Linked DNA regions of Homo sapiens: regions 1 and 3 are each linked to region 2. Evidence: promoter capture Hi-C in 16 types of primary human blood cells and fetal thymus (Javierre and others, 2016). All regions are on one chromosome and are shown on one strand. The core of a region is centred on a gene start or on the middle of the fragment in contact, and the rest is flanking DNA. Distances in the headings are between cores, read along the strand shown. Region 1 holds the start of NMNAT3 (nicotinamide nucleotide adenylyltransferase 3). Region 2 holds the start of ANAPC13 (anaphase promoting complex subunit 13). Region 3 has its middle 2.8 kb from the start of SLC25A36.

Evidence for each region. Contacts are between HindIII fragments. The CHiCAGO score rates a contact against its expected background, and 5 or more counts as called.
Region 1: the fragment with the promoter of NMNAT3 here is called in contact with the fragment with the promoter of ANAPC13 in region 2 in 2 of 17 cell types (naive CD8 T cells and activated CD4 T cells); the score reaches 7.7 in naive CD8 T cells.
Region 3: a contact is called between a fragment that was not itself captured here and the fragment with the promoter of ANAPC13 in region 2, in 1 of 17 cell types (non-activated CD4 T cells). The highest score is 7.8, in non-activated CD4 T cells.

The regions. Positions count from the first base shown.
Region 1 is chr3:139,675,317-139,680,105 of GRCh38, reverse strand. NMNAT3 (nicotinamide nucleotide adenylyltransferase 3) reads left to right here and starts at 2,134. Exons shown (of 7, transcript NM_001401600.1): 1 at 2,134-2,401. RefSeq lists a silencer at 2,031-2,080. The HindIII fragment of the contact is 2,876 bases long and covers 686-3,561 here.
Region 2 is chr3:134,483,815-134,488,238 of GRCh38, reverse strand. It overlaps ANAPC13 (anaphase promoting complex subunit 13), which reads left to right and starts at 2,254. Exons shown (of 3, transcript NM_015391.4): 1 at 2,254-2,287. It overlaps CEP63 (centrosomal protein 63), which reads right to left and starts at 2,182. Exons shown (of 15, transcript NM_001353108.3): 1 at 2,037-2,182. RefSeq lists enhancers at 1,250-2,068, 2,160-2,269, 2,350-2,449, 2,480-2,599. The HindIII fragment of the contact is 3,493 bases long and covers 2,075-4,424 here.
Region 3 is chr3:140,936,445-140,941,600 of GRCh38, reverse strand. No RefSeq gene overlaps it. Among named protein-coding and RNA genes, the nearest start is that of SLC25A36, 2.8 kb to the left of the region's middle. The HindIII fragment of the contact is 3,620 bases long and covers 842-4,461 here.

The DNA.
Region 1 (4,789 bases), core at 885-3,384, 5.2 Mb before region 2:
TGGATTTCTCAGCCATTGCGTCTTCACCGCTTAGGTTAGGTAAAGCTTGGCTATTATATGAGGTTCTTACCTTCCAGCACAAGGGGACGCTACTTTTTTAAAAAAATATTTTTATTTCCATAGGTTATTAGGGAACTGGTGGTATTTGGTTACATGAGTAAGTTCCTTAGAGGAGATTTGTAAGATTTTGGTATACCCATCACCCGAGCAGTATACACTGAACCCAATTTGTAGTCTTTTATCTCTCACTCCCTTCCCATTCTTCCCCTCTGAGTCCCCAAAGTCCACTGTGTCATTCTTATGTCTTTGCATCCTCATAGCATAGCTCCCACTTATGAGAATATACCATGTTTGGTTTTCCATTCCCGAGTTACTTCACTTAGAATAACACTCTCCAATCTCATCCAGTTGCTGTGAATGCCATTAATTCATTCCTTTTTTCTTGCCTAGGAAACCAGGCTTCCTCCTAGACCAAGCTTTAGTCTTCACTACCTCAGGCAGAGAAAGCTTCCCTTGCATGAGGAAGTCATTGCCCAGCCTCTTCTCTGCTCTCTGTGTGCAGCTTCTCCCTCCCTGGCCTAGGGCCCTGACCCAGAATGACTCTTCAGCCCACGATTTTAATCGAAGGCCTCTAATCAACCTGTGGTACTACATGCTACACAAGATTCTCAGAAATCCCTAAGCTTTCTCATGAGCCTCCCACCCTGCTGGGAAATAAGCTGACTTATCAATTAAAGAATATCCAAAGATGTTAAGCCACTTAATCCTCCCCAAAACTCAGTGCGGTAGGGGTTGTTACCTCCCATTATACGAAAGGAAAGTGAGGCTTGGGAAGTAAAGAGACTTGTCCAAGATCACCTTCTGGAGCCACATTTTACACCACAGGTAAGAGAAAAGGGATCCGAGAGGGCACGGACACTGTGTCTTCAGACTGAGTGGGGAAGTACCATTTACCTGGGTACTTATTGGGTGCAAGTTGCATGCCCCCGGTGCTAATACACAAGGGACAAATTTATGGGCCTCCTAAAACTGTGGACAGTGCACCCGTCCAGCCAACTTCATGGGTGCACCGTGAGGCTCTGGTGATGTGGACAGGCTTATAAAACACTCTCCATACTAAGATGAGGTTGTGTTCCTGTGTCTAGGAAACGCTGGAAATTAAGTGTACAGCAATCAAAAAACCTTGACATCATCCTTGATGTCTCTCTTTTTCGCACACTCCAATTCACTCCATTAGGAAACTGTATTGGCAGAATCTAGTGAATCTTGTCCTTCAAGGCCTCTCTCTGCAAGGCTCCCATGAGCCCTGGGGGCTTATGGAGAGTTCTGGGTGGGCAGAGGAAGCCAGACTGCGTTAGGGAAGCAAATTTGGGACCTAAATTTCCTAAGAAGGTTTTAGGGGATAGGGACCCCAATCTCTAAGACCCCAGGATTCTGTTAAGATTTATTTTCTCATTCCAAATAAATGTTCACTGGCAAGCCCTAATTCTGTCTTCTCTTTCTTAAGCAGCCCTCCCTTCCTTCTCCCCACACAACTGTGTATGCTTCAGGCCCCAGAAATCCTTCCCTGCTTTGAGGTCTGGCGTTTACCAGGGCAGGGCTTGAGAATAGAGGTGTAAATTTGTCAGAAGGAAACAGGGGCCGCGCAGTAAGAGAGTAGATCCTCATATAACATGGCAGAAAGTCAATGGATAAATCAAGAAATCGCTATGTAAGTTTCTTTTTTTATTTTTTTATTTTATTTATTTATTTTTTTTTTGCGACAAGCGGGTGACCACTAGAAGAAATTAACGGAGGAATTGTTAAAAAGAGCTGTGATGGGAGGGAGAAGTGGCCTGTTGCTTTCATTATAAGCAAATCTAGATAATTTTATTTTCTAATAAGTAAGTGGGCGTTACTTTCATGTATTTTTTTAAAAGAAAATTAAATAAAAATACAAAACAAACAGAATACAAAACAGGAGAATAAAAAAGCAAACACGCACGCAACACAAAAGAGCCTTGGCGGTTGGGAGCCAGCGGGCGGGGGCGGGGGCAGGGGAGAGGGCGGGGCTTAGGACCCTGGGCGGGGCCAGGGCCGGGTCTCCTTAGGGCCCGCCCCAGCGAAGGGGCGGGGCGCAGATCTGTTTCCCTCAGACTCCATCTGCCCGGGGCCGCTAAGGGAGCGCAAGGTCAAGTTCGCCTTGGCCCCGCCTCCAGCTCAGGTACTAGGGGATCTAGACCTGAGGCTGCCCGGGCCGGAGGCAGCCTTGAGTCCCGAGACCAAACGTCGTTTCCCTCTCGGACCTCGGGCGCCGGGCCGCGCGCTGACCGACAGCCCCTGCTAGGCCCAGCAGGTCCCCTAGTCCCCCGCAGTCCCCCGAGACTCGCCGAGCGCCGTTGCTGAGCCCTGCAAATAGCAGGTAAGCGCAGCGTGGGCCCCTCGTCAGCCCACTAGGACCTGGATCGCGGCTGAATGCCCGGGCCCACGTGACTCCTGGCCCCTAACTGAGTCCTGGGAGTCCCCGCTGGGGCGACAGGTGGCGGCGGAGTGCGGAGCCATCCGGGGTGGCGCGAACCGGGGGGACAGCTCCGCGCTGCCTCTGCGCGCCGGCGGTTCTCGCTGCAGCGTGTCAACCTAACCCCCAGCTCCCCTTTGGCTATGACCAGAGTCCCGGAGACGTGGGTTCGGATCCCACCTTTAGCACTCGTGCACTCAAAGGTTAAAAATATAAGCACAGTGTCTAACAAATACTTAACGTGTTCCACTCAGTGTCCGCTGCTGGGCTAAGTGCTGGGGTTACAGTAGCAGGCCAAAAAATGTGGTGCCCTCCCCCGTGCAGCTCACAGTCCAGTGGGGGGAGACCGACAGCAAATGGATATCTATGCAAACAAGTGTGAACGTTAAAACTGTGGTCAGAGCTATGAAGATTGAAATTCTAGGGTGCTGGAGAGATTTTATCAGGGCCCCCAGCTACAAAGGCTGCTGGAACTAAAACTTTAGAGAATTCCCGGGCGGGGAACAACAGAGCAAACTCATTTTGTTGGGAGAGAATGTGGCTTGAGGAAAGGAGGGTTGGTGGGGCTGGCCTGCAGAGAGCTGGGGGGAAAGCAAGTTCCTTAACCTTAACGTTCTCCTCTGTAAAATGGGATTGTTCTACCCATTGAGAATGGAAATGGTGAATGTAAATGACTTAGCACTGCGTGATGGGTGCTGGATGTTACTCTGCACTAAACATCCAAGGCTTGATGTTGTTCTGGACTAAACACAGTGTGCCTGCCTCTCAGCAAAGTCACTTCCCCTCTCCTTGAGTCCTGTTTCTTCCTCTATCAAATAAGTGGTTCTGAGTAGAATCTCTCAAACAGCCTGTTCTCTAAAATGATGACTGGTTTAGTTGTTCATTCTTGAAACATTTAACTGGCGCCCACTTTACCCTGGCTCTGAGGATTCAGAGAGAAATCAGACAGGGGCCCTGCCCTCCTGGAGCCCATGTCCGGTGGGCCAGGTGAAATAAAGTGACAGTTCCACCCTGGCACAACCCAGAGAAAGGGTTCTTACCCACTGGCCTTGCAGGGGAAAGCTTCTCTGTTTTTCTCAGAAAGCCACCCAGGAGCCCCTGAAGGTATGGTTCACACAGCTCCACTGAGCATCAGTTACTTCTTGAATTTCATTGGTGGTTCTCAGCTTTTGGTGTCACCTCTTAAAACTGGACAGAAGACTTCCCAGAAGCAGCAACTATGCTGGGACCTTGCTAAGGACGTGTCAGACCTTGAGACCCCATGGATTTGGGAGAGCATTTTAGGTTTCAGGAAACATCTGTCAGCTGCTCACTGTATTTTATTGGCTCAAATGATCCCAATTTCTTATTTGGCTCTGTTCACAACATTGTTGTAGACAAAGAAAGTGCTCCATGAAAACCAACTGAGAGGCCCAGAGAGTAGGGGAACCCAGATGAGGCAGGAGTCTGGCACCATTTGTGGGGAGTGGTAAAAAAGAACAGGTATGATGTTAACAGAGGGTGTTGGAGGGAAGAGGAGAGAGAGCAGCCATTGTGCAGCCTCTCTTTTCCCCTCTCAGACCACTGCAGGATGCCAGCCCATGAGAAGGGAAGCTCCAGGCTTGGTGGTCACAGACCTGGCACTTCTCAGCTCTGTGACTGACCCTGGGCAGCTCACTCACCTTGTGAGTCGTGAGGATTGCTCAGGCTTAACAGGTGCTTAGCATATCGTTGGCCCTGAAGAAATATTAACTCCCACCCTCTCCTTCTCCTGAATGAACTAAAATATACATAGTTGTAGTGTCTACCTCAGAAGGTTATTATGGGGATTTAATGAGGACCTAAAATACATAGAGCAGTACCTGACATGTGGGAGGATACTACTACTATAACTATTGATATCGTTCCTTAGTCTGGACAAAAATTGATGAAACAAGACAGGGCAGAGGCGGGAGAGGGATAGGAGTGGAGGCAGTATGAGGAATTGTGCAGGGTGATTAGTCAGGGGGTTAGATTATCTGTTGCAGTGGTTTTGCCATAAAGCAAGAGCCTGGCAGCAGAGAGGGGTGTTCTGCATGATAAAGGGCCTCCTGGGCAGCTGCACTGTCAGAAAGCCCCAGAAAGCCCCAGTGTCTTTGTAGACTCAGGCCAAAGAAAGCGTAGCAAAAGTTGGAGAAAACTAGGGTTGAAAAGGGTCTAAAATGGTCTTTTTGATGATGTGTCTCTAACTGATGGCTGAGTGGGGGTTCCCTGCAGGGGGCTGCCACTGCACCTTGCAGACCCTTGCCATCCCTTTGAGCATGGTAACTGCCT
Region 2 (4,424 bases), core at 1,005-3,504:
AGTCAGATTCTTATAAGTGTGCAACCTAGATTCCTTGCATGCGCAGTTTACAATAGGGTTCGTGCCCCTAGGAGAATCTAACCTCACGGCTGATCTGACAGGAGGCAGAGCTCAGGTGGTAGGTAATGCTCACTAGCCTGTCACTCACCTCCTGCTCTGTAGCCTGGTTCCTAACAGGCCACGGACTGGTACTGCTCTGCGGCCCCGGGTTTGGGGGCCCCTGGTTTAGAGGACACAAAGGCAACAGAGATACATGTTAAAGGATACTGTGCGATGCAATCTGCTAAATTTAGAACTGTAAGGAAAAATAGGGGCTAATCCCATAGCTATAACTATGAGGGAACAAATATAGATTAAAAGATGTCAAATGTGCATCACCCAAACACAATAGGCAGATCCCTGTGGGATTTTGGTTCAAACAAGCTAATTGTAAAAAGACATTTAAGAGACAGTTGAAGAAATCGTTATCTGACTGGATATTGACATTAGAGAATTTTTATTAATTTGTGTATGTGTAATGACAGTACTGTGGCTCTGTAAAACTGAAAAACCTAGCTCCTGATGGGGGCGGGGAGGCGGACTAAAATAACATAAAGATCGGAGATTCAGTTCCTGAAACCTTCTGTCAATGTTGGCTTTAGCTGAATTTCAAGTCAAGTTGACATTTTTTGAAAGCAGGAAGCAATGACAGAGTGGACTACTGATGCTGTCACCATCTGCCAGCACAACATAAATTAGAACAGAAAGGACTAAGCAAAGGTCTTCCACCATTTTAACGAGAGGAAATGGCATCAGTACAATCAACATACACAATTTTTACAAACAACTTTTAGATTTGCATCTACATACATTTTAAAAGGCAGTGTGCCTGTTTATAAATCTCTACTCTAATTTAGTTTCAGAGCTTTTTACTACCCTGATCACTGATAATGCCACAGTCAAAAAGCAAACTCAAAATAAAAATCAATCTAAAAATGGTACTGCATGCCAAATAAGAAAATATATACACTTTATCATTAAGCTACAGCTAACAGAAATCTAATCAACGATCCTTATGATTTCCTCGTATCTAAAAAATAAATGCAAGCACTTGAGGAACTGTATAAATACAGGGCATCTACCCTACAATACTGCTTTATTAAAATAATAAATTCTTTTAATAAGTTTAACCAGACATAAGGCTCAGGGAAAACTACTCTGTGCATATCAGCGTACGGTGCTGAAACTGTAAAAGACGACCTGTCTCTGACATCATACTCATCTTTACTCTCCTGATGTCGTAAGGGACGTAAGAAAAACCACATTATAAGCCTAAATGTACTGTCTTCAAGTATCTCCATGATTAAAGTGTTCCTAAGAAACCGTCCTTATTTCTTTCTATCCCTCATTTGTGTGCATGGAGCCGTTAGTTCAGGGTTCTCCAATTTCAGTCCACGATTTATGCCACATTTCCGTACCTCTTGTACTAACATAACCGTTTAAACCAACTCACTATTTTAAAAGCTGCCAACCTTAACATGCCACACTAAATGAGCGGGTCCCCTTGTGCCGTGAATGAAGTAGTCCCAACAGCGCTAGCTAGACAGCAGCCCTGGCAGGGAGGCCGCACTGGGGTCTCTCCGCTGAAAAGGAAGGTGGGTCCGCCGGGGAAGGTGAGTACTGGGCGCAGCTCGCTCGCCCACCTGGCCACTCTCCGAAGCGCCCCCAGCCACCTGGACTCCGAGGAAGGGCTGACCACCTGGCGGGGCCGAACCCCACGCCGGGCTGCGCCACGCCAGACTCCGCCAGTGTGCAGGGCATAGCGGGCCAGGCCGAGGGACTGGGCTTCGGGGCGGACCCAAGCCGGCGGGGACGCGCCTGGTGGTTCGCAGGCCGTTGCGCAAACCGGCCGCAAGCCATGAGGCCGCGAAGCCAGAATCACCAAGGCAGCCTGGGCCGCCTCCAGACCAGGACACGGCAGCCCCTTGCCCCTCCAACTTGCGCACCGGCGGTTACAGGGTTGCCGCAAGCACGCCCCTGAGCCTTCCCGCCGTTACCTCGGGCCGGCGCTGCGCACGCGCGCCACCGCTAAGCTTACGTCCAGCCTCTGTAGTCGGCGCGTTTGTTCCGCCCACTGCCCCCACACTTTTAATAATTGAAACAATGCCTTCTCCAGACTTCCCCTGCACGCGAGCAAATGAACTCACCCACATCCGGGAATCCGAGGAAAGCGAGTGCAGACACGTGATGCGGGGGAGGGGGGGGGGGCGTGGCAGGAGCAAGCGTCTGCCGCGGTGGCCGGGTGCCGGTAAGGGTTTCCAGCGCCCCCGGCCTAGGTTTTGGAGGCGCGGGAATGCGTTCGTTGCTCAGTGTCGGACTTCCCCCTATTCCCATCGGCCGAGGCTGTCACTTTACGCTCATAACCGTTTTTCTTTACTGCACTCGTGTCGGGAGGAAAGGGACTTGCGTGGCACCCCCAGACCTCCCCGTCTCCGCTTCCACGTTTGGTACATCCTGCCTGAGGCAGGAAGCCGCAGCTGAGGGACGGCCTGTCGTACGGTGCGGATGGTGGTGGCCTGCGAGGCTCATTTCTAGCAAGGAACAAGGCTTTCCCGCTTTGATTTTATAAATATTATGTTTACAAAGCTGTAATATATAGAAATTGATAAGACGTGTCCCTGTCCCTGGAAACGCAGGCACCGCGTGTTTGGAAAGACATTCATCTGGGCTGTTTGACAGACTCCCCAGTTGGTGCCATGCTCTGTGCTTAGGGAACTGTGAGACCCCTGGAGGGGTGGGTACCGGGACCGCACTCAGCCTGGGGTTTGGAGGCGGCCTCCTATAGGAAGCGACCTGGGACCTAAGATTTTTAGACTGACTGTGGGTTCACTGGAATAAAAAGGAAGAAACAAAGAGCATTGCAGGCATCGGGACTGTCACGTGAGTAAGAAAAGTTTGTTCAGGAAACAGTGGTCGTACTGGGTGACGAGTACTTGGGACGGTGGCTTTAATACACAAGATAATCAGTGTGCCCTGGGCATTGATTATCTTGATGCTTCCCATCCTTCCAGCCCCTTATGAGGGAAGGCACCTTCGCGCCTAATCCCGGAAATGGGATGTTGACCTTCAAGAGCTGACGCCTGCGTTTATCTTGAAAGGAAGAGTGGCATTAGTGATGTGGAAAAGGGGGTTTTAACTGTCAAGGCTGGAAAATGTGACAGGGTTGGAGGTGTTTGGAGAAGGGACAGGTGAAAAAGATTGAGACCAAATGTGGAAAGATCTACTAAGGAATCATGGGTACAAAATGTACACGTAACAGTTGGAGGCAATAATACCTGAGCAATTGACCACAAAGCTGACCTAGCTTGTTTAGTAGATTAAGTTAGGACAAGAAGCAAGAGTTCAAGGATAGAAGGCCTACTGAAGCTCGAGTGATTTGAGAAAACTTTACAAAGGTGGAAAATCTACGTGGGCCTCCGAAAGTCAGGTTTGGATCAGCTGAGGAAAGTGAGAAGGGTATCCCAGGAGACAGAGCAGCAAGGACAAAGGAGTAGCAGCAGGAAAGTGGGGAGCACTTGTAAGACAGGGACTTCAAAAGTATAACCAAAACTTCGTCTTGCTTTGAGTTATCCACTGGGTAGTACTCGGTTAATTATTGAGTACTGGATTAATTAAGCCCTCACCTGGCTCACCGGTGACAGAAGTAGCAGGGCGCATTTTGCTTAACTTTTGCCGAGATCCTTGTCATGGGGGTGTAAACCCTTTCCCACACCAATCTGTGTATAATTTTTGCCAAGGTGTTAGGGATATCTTGCAGTTATCCTATGGGGGACAGCTGTGAGCCTTTTTGGTTTTTTTTGTTTTTTTTTTTCCGAGACGGAATCTTGCTCTGTCGCCCAGGCTGGAGTGCAGTGGCGCGTGGCGCTATCTCGGCTCACTGCAAGCTCCGCCTCCCAGGTTCACGCCATTCTCCTGCCTCAGCCTCCCGAGTAGCTGGGACTACAGGCGCCTGCCACCATGCTCGGCTAATTTTTTGTATTTTTAGTAGAGACGAGGTTTCACCCTGTTAGCCAGGATGGTGTTGATCTCCTGACCTCGTGATCCGCCCACCTCGGTCTCCCAAAGTGCTGGATTACAGGCGCGAGCCACCGCGCCCGGCCCTGTGAGCCATTTTTACAAAAACTTCCACCTGCCTTGGCCCAAACCTCAGCGTTCTTAGGCACAGGAGCTCATGAACATACTGAGATAACACTAAACTGGACTATGCGAAGGGACCAACTACAGACCTGACACAAATCCTCAAGGCAAGACGATGTCTGAAGTTGAGCTTGTAAAGGAAATGGCTTCCTTCCTTAAAATATCACCCAGGCTGAGCTCTGAAAAAAGCACCTCCAGATGGTGGGTTCCACCCCGCTCCACCACCCCAAAATTGCTTATTGTGTGAG
Region 3 (5,156 bases), core at 1,402-3,901, 6.5 Mb before region 2:
GACCTGGGGCGCCCCTGGCCTGAGTGAACGCGCCAATCACGGCTGCACTCTCCTGAACAGGGAACTGGCGGGGCGGGAAAAATCGACTTGGTTCCGGGTTCGCAAGCGGATTTACTTTGAAAAAATTGGATTTATGACCCAGCAGTTCCCTTGGTGTCTATCTCAGAGTAACCCTCGCACAATGCATAAAAAGGTTTGTGCACGGATACTCCTATATAGGCTCACAAACAGTACAGAATTATGAACAATGCTTGCAGTTGCAGAAAATTGAAATCAGTGGGGGAATGAAGAAATAAATCATGAAACATTCCTACTATGGAATATTATGCAATCGTGACAAGGGATGAGGTGATTCCATATGGCAAAAAATCTCCCGAAGTGTGTAATAAGTAAAAAAGGCAAGTAGAATTAAAATACTTGGGTTTGTTTTTAAAAGAATAAAAGTTCATGGGAAATGGAATTAAAAGATAAAATTTAAAAATATAAACTTTGTTTTTCAACGTAAGCTCCATCAAGTTAAAGACAGTTTGGTAAGTGATGATACCGGCTCTTTAGTCCATCTGTAAAGAATTGAGGGTTCTGGGAATTTAATCATGAAAATGCAGGCTTTTTTACGTTATTAACTGAAGAAAAATGGGTGCCATTTACAGATTTTTCACGATTAGAAAACAAAAATATGTCAGAAGGAGCCAGGTCAGGAATGTAAGATGGATACCTGATAGTTTCCCATCGAAATCCCTGGAAAAATGCCCTTATTTAAAGAGAGGAATGAGCAGGAACATTGTCCTGATGGAGAAGGACTCTCTGGTGAAGATTTCGTAGGTGTTTTTATGCTAAAGCTTTGCTTCACTTTCTCCTATAGTAAGCGGATGTTATTGCTCTTCCACCCTCCAGAAAGTCAACAGGCAAAATACCTTGAGCATCCCAAAAAGCTGCTGCTATGACTTCGGCTCTTGACCAGTCTACTTTTGATTTGACTGGACCACTTGCACCTCTTGGTAACTATTGCTTTGATCCAGAATCATACTGAGAAAGCTATGTTTGATCTCCTGTTACAATTCTTCAAAGAAATGTTTCAATATATGATCCCACTTGTTTACAATTTCCATTGAAAGCCCTGCTCTTGTCTGCAGCTCATCTGGGTGCAACAGTTTTGCACCCATCGGGTGAAAAGTTTGCTCAACTTCAGTTTTTCAGTGAGAAATGTGTAAGTAGAACCAGTTGAAATGTCTATGGTGTTGTATATTATTTGTGCTGTTAATTGTGGGTCCTCTTCAATTAGGGCACACCGAAGAATAATCTTTTCCTCAAAAATCGATGTGGATTGTCTGCCACTGCAGGCTTCCTCTTCAACATTGTCTCATCCCTTCTGCAAACAAGTTATCCATTTGTAAACTTCAGATTTCTTTGGGGGAATTTTCCCCATCAAACTTTTGTAAAGCATCCTTGATTTCACCATTCTTCCACCCAATCTTGACCATAAATTTGATGTTTTTTCTTGCTTCAATTCATGCTGCTCTGATAGGGGCTGTTTTCAAGCTGATGTCTTATCCTTTTTAGTGCCTCAAACTAGATCTTGTTCAGATACATTATAACAAGTGAGTACGAATTTTTGGTGCAAAAAAGTTTGAAATTCATACATAGTTTTTTTTTTAGTTAGGAAAAATGTTTATATAAATTTAAATTTACATATATTCCATCCTTCTCTTAACTGAAAAGAGTAAGAAACTTTCTGAGATTTTCTTTGTTACCAGTTCCTTTTTTTTTTTTTTTTTTAATATACTTTAAGTTCTGGGATACATGTGGAGAATGTGGAGGTTTGTTATGTAGGTATACATGTGCCATGGTAGTTTGCTGCACCCATTAACTCGTTGTCTACATTAGGTATTTCTCCTAATGCTATCCATCCCCTTGCCCCCCAACCCCCGACAGGCCCCAGAGTGGATGTTCCCCTCCCTGTACCCATATGTTCTCATTTTTCAACTCCCACTTATGAGTGAGAACATGGGGTGTTTGGTTTTCTGTTCTTGTGTTAGTTTGCTGAGAATGATGGTTTGCAGCGTCATCCATGTCCCTCCAAAGGACATGATCTCATCTTTTTTATGGCCGCATAGTATTCCATGGTGTGTATGTGCCACATTTTCTTTATCCAGTCTAACATTGATGGGCATTTGGGTTGGTTCCAAGTCTTTGCTATTGTGAATAGTGCTGCCAGAAACATACGTGTGCATGTGTCTTTATAGTAGAATGATTTATAGACCTCTGGGTATATACCCAGTAATAGGATTGCTGGGTCAAATGGTATTTCTAGATCCTTGAGGAATCGCCACACCATCTTCCACAATCGTTGAACTTATTTACACTCCCACACTGTTACCCAGTGTGAAAGCATTCCTATTTCCCCACCTTCTCTCCAGCGTCTGTTGTTTCCTGACTTTTCAATGATCGCCATTCTAACTGGCGTGAGATGGTATCTCATTGTGGTTTGCATTTGCATTTCTCTAATGACTAGTGGTGATGAGCTTTTTTTCATATGTTTGTTGGCCACATAAACGTCTTGTTTTGAGAAGTGTCTGTTCATATCCTTCATTCATTTTTTGATGGGATTGTTTTTGTTGTTGTTTTGTTTTTGTTTTTGCTTGTTTTTTTTGAAACAGAGTCTTGCTCTTGTTACCCAGGCTGGAGTGCAATGGTGCAATCTCAGCTCACTGCAACCTCCACCTCCTGGGTTCAAGTGGTTCTCCTGCCTCAGCCTCCGTAGTAACTGGGATTAGAGGTGCCTGCCACCATGCGCAGCTAATTTTTTTTTTTTTTTGGTATTTTTAATAGAGACGGGGTTTCACTGTGTTGGCCAGGCTGGTCTTGAACTCCTGACCTCAGGCAATCCACCCGCCTCAGCCTCCCAAAGTACTGGGATTACAGGCATGAGCCACTGTGCCCAGCTGGTTTTTTTTTTTTTTTTTTTATAAATTTGTTTAAGTTCCTTGGAGATTCTGGATATTAGCCCTTTGTCAGATGGATAGATTGCAAAAATTTTCTCCCATTCTGTAGGTTGCCTGTTCACTCTGGATAGTTTCTTCTGCTGTGCAGAAGCTGTTTAGTTTAATGAGATCCCATTTGTCAATTTTGGCTTTTGTTGCCATTGCTTTTGGTGTTTTATTCATGAAGTCTTTGCCCATGCCTATGCCTGAATGATATTGCCTAGGTTTTCTTCTAGGGTTTTTATGATTTTAGGTCTTGTATTTAAATCTTTAATCCATCTTGAGTTAATTTTTGTATAAGGTGTAAGGAAGGAGTCCAGTTCCAGTTTTCTGCATATGGCTAGCAGTTTATTAAATAGGGACTCCTTTGCCCATTGCTTGTTTTTCTCAGGTTTGTCAAAGATCAGATGGTTGTAGATGTGTGGTGTTATTTCTGAGGCCTCTGTTCTGTTCCAGTGGTCTATATATCTGTTTTGGTACCAGTACCATGCTGTTTTGGTTACTGTAGCCTTGTAGTATAGTTTGAAGTCAGGTAGCATGATGCCTCCAGCTTTGTTCTTTTTTCTTAGGATTGTCTTGGCTATATGGGCTCTTTTTTGGTTGCATATGAAATTTAAAGAAGTTTTTTCTAATTCTGTGAAGAAAGTCCATGGTAGCTTGATGGGAATAGCATTGAATCTATTAATTACCTTGGGCAGTATGGCCATTTTCACGATATTGATTCTTTCTATCCATGAGCATGGAATGTTTTTCCCTTTGTTTGTGTTCTCTCTTATTTCCTTGAGCAGTGGTTTGTAGTTCTCCTTGAAGAGGTCCTTCACATCCCTTGTAAGTTATATTCCTAGGTATTTGATTCTCTTTGTAGCAATTGTGAATTGGAATTTGCCCATGATTTGGCTCTCTGTTTGTCTATTATTGGTGTACAGGAATGCTTGTGATTTTTGCACATTGATTTTGTATCCTGAGACTTTGCTGAAGTTGCTTATCAGCTTAAGGAGTTTTTGGGCTGAGATGATGGGGTTTTCTAAATATTCAATCATGTCATCTGCAAACAGAGGTAATTTGACTCCCTATCTTCCTATTTGAATACCCTTTATTTCTTTCTCTTGCCTGATTGCCCTGGCCAGAGCGTCTAATACTATGTTGAATAGGAGTGTTGAGAGAGAGCATCCTTGTCTTGTACTGGTTTTCAAAGGTGATGCTCCCAGCTTTTGCCCATTCAGTATGATACTGGCTATGAGTTTGTCATAAATAGCTCTTATTATTTTGAGGTATGTTCCATCAATACCTAGTTTATTGAGTGTTTTTAGCATGAAGGGGTGTTGAATGTTATCAAAGGCCTTTTCTGCATCTATTGAGATAATCATGTGGTTTTTGTCATTGGTTCTGTTTATGTGATGGATTATGTTTATTGATTTGCATATATTGAACCAGCCTTGCATCCAAGGGATGAAGCCAACTTGATTGTGGTGGATAAGCTTTTTAATGTGCTGCTGGATTCAGTTTGCCTCTGTTTTATTGAGGATTTTTGCATCGATGTTCATCAGGGATATTGGCCTGAAATTTTCTTTTTTTGTTGTGTCTCTGCCAGGTTTTGGTATCAGGATGATGGCGGCCTCATAAAATCATAAAATGAGTTAGGGAGGAGTCTCCCTTTTTCTATTGTTTGGAATAGTTTCAGAAGGAATGATACCAGCTCCTCTTTATACCTCTGGTAGAATTCGGCTGTGAATCCATCTGGTCCTGGGCTTTTTTTGGTTGGTAGGCTATTACTTACTGCCTTAATTTCAGACCTTGTTATTGGTCTATTCAGGGATTTGACTTCTTCCTGGTTTAGTCTTGGTGGGGGTGTATGGTCTAGGAATTTATCCATTTCTTCTAGATTTTCTAGTTTATTTGCATAGAGATGTTTATAGTATTCTCTGATGGTAGTTTGTATTTGTGTGGGATCAGTGGTAATATCCCCTTTATCGTTTTTAATTGTGTCTATTTGATTCTTCTCTCTTTGCTTCTTTATAAGTCTGGCTAGTGGTCTATCTATTTTGTTGATCTTTTCAGAACAGCTCCTGGATCCATTGATTTTTTTCAGGGTTTTTTGTGTCTATATCTCCTTCAGCTCTGCTCTGATCTTAGTTATTTCTTGTCTTCTGCTAGCTTTTGAATTTTTTTTGCTCT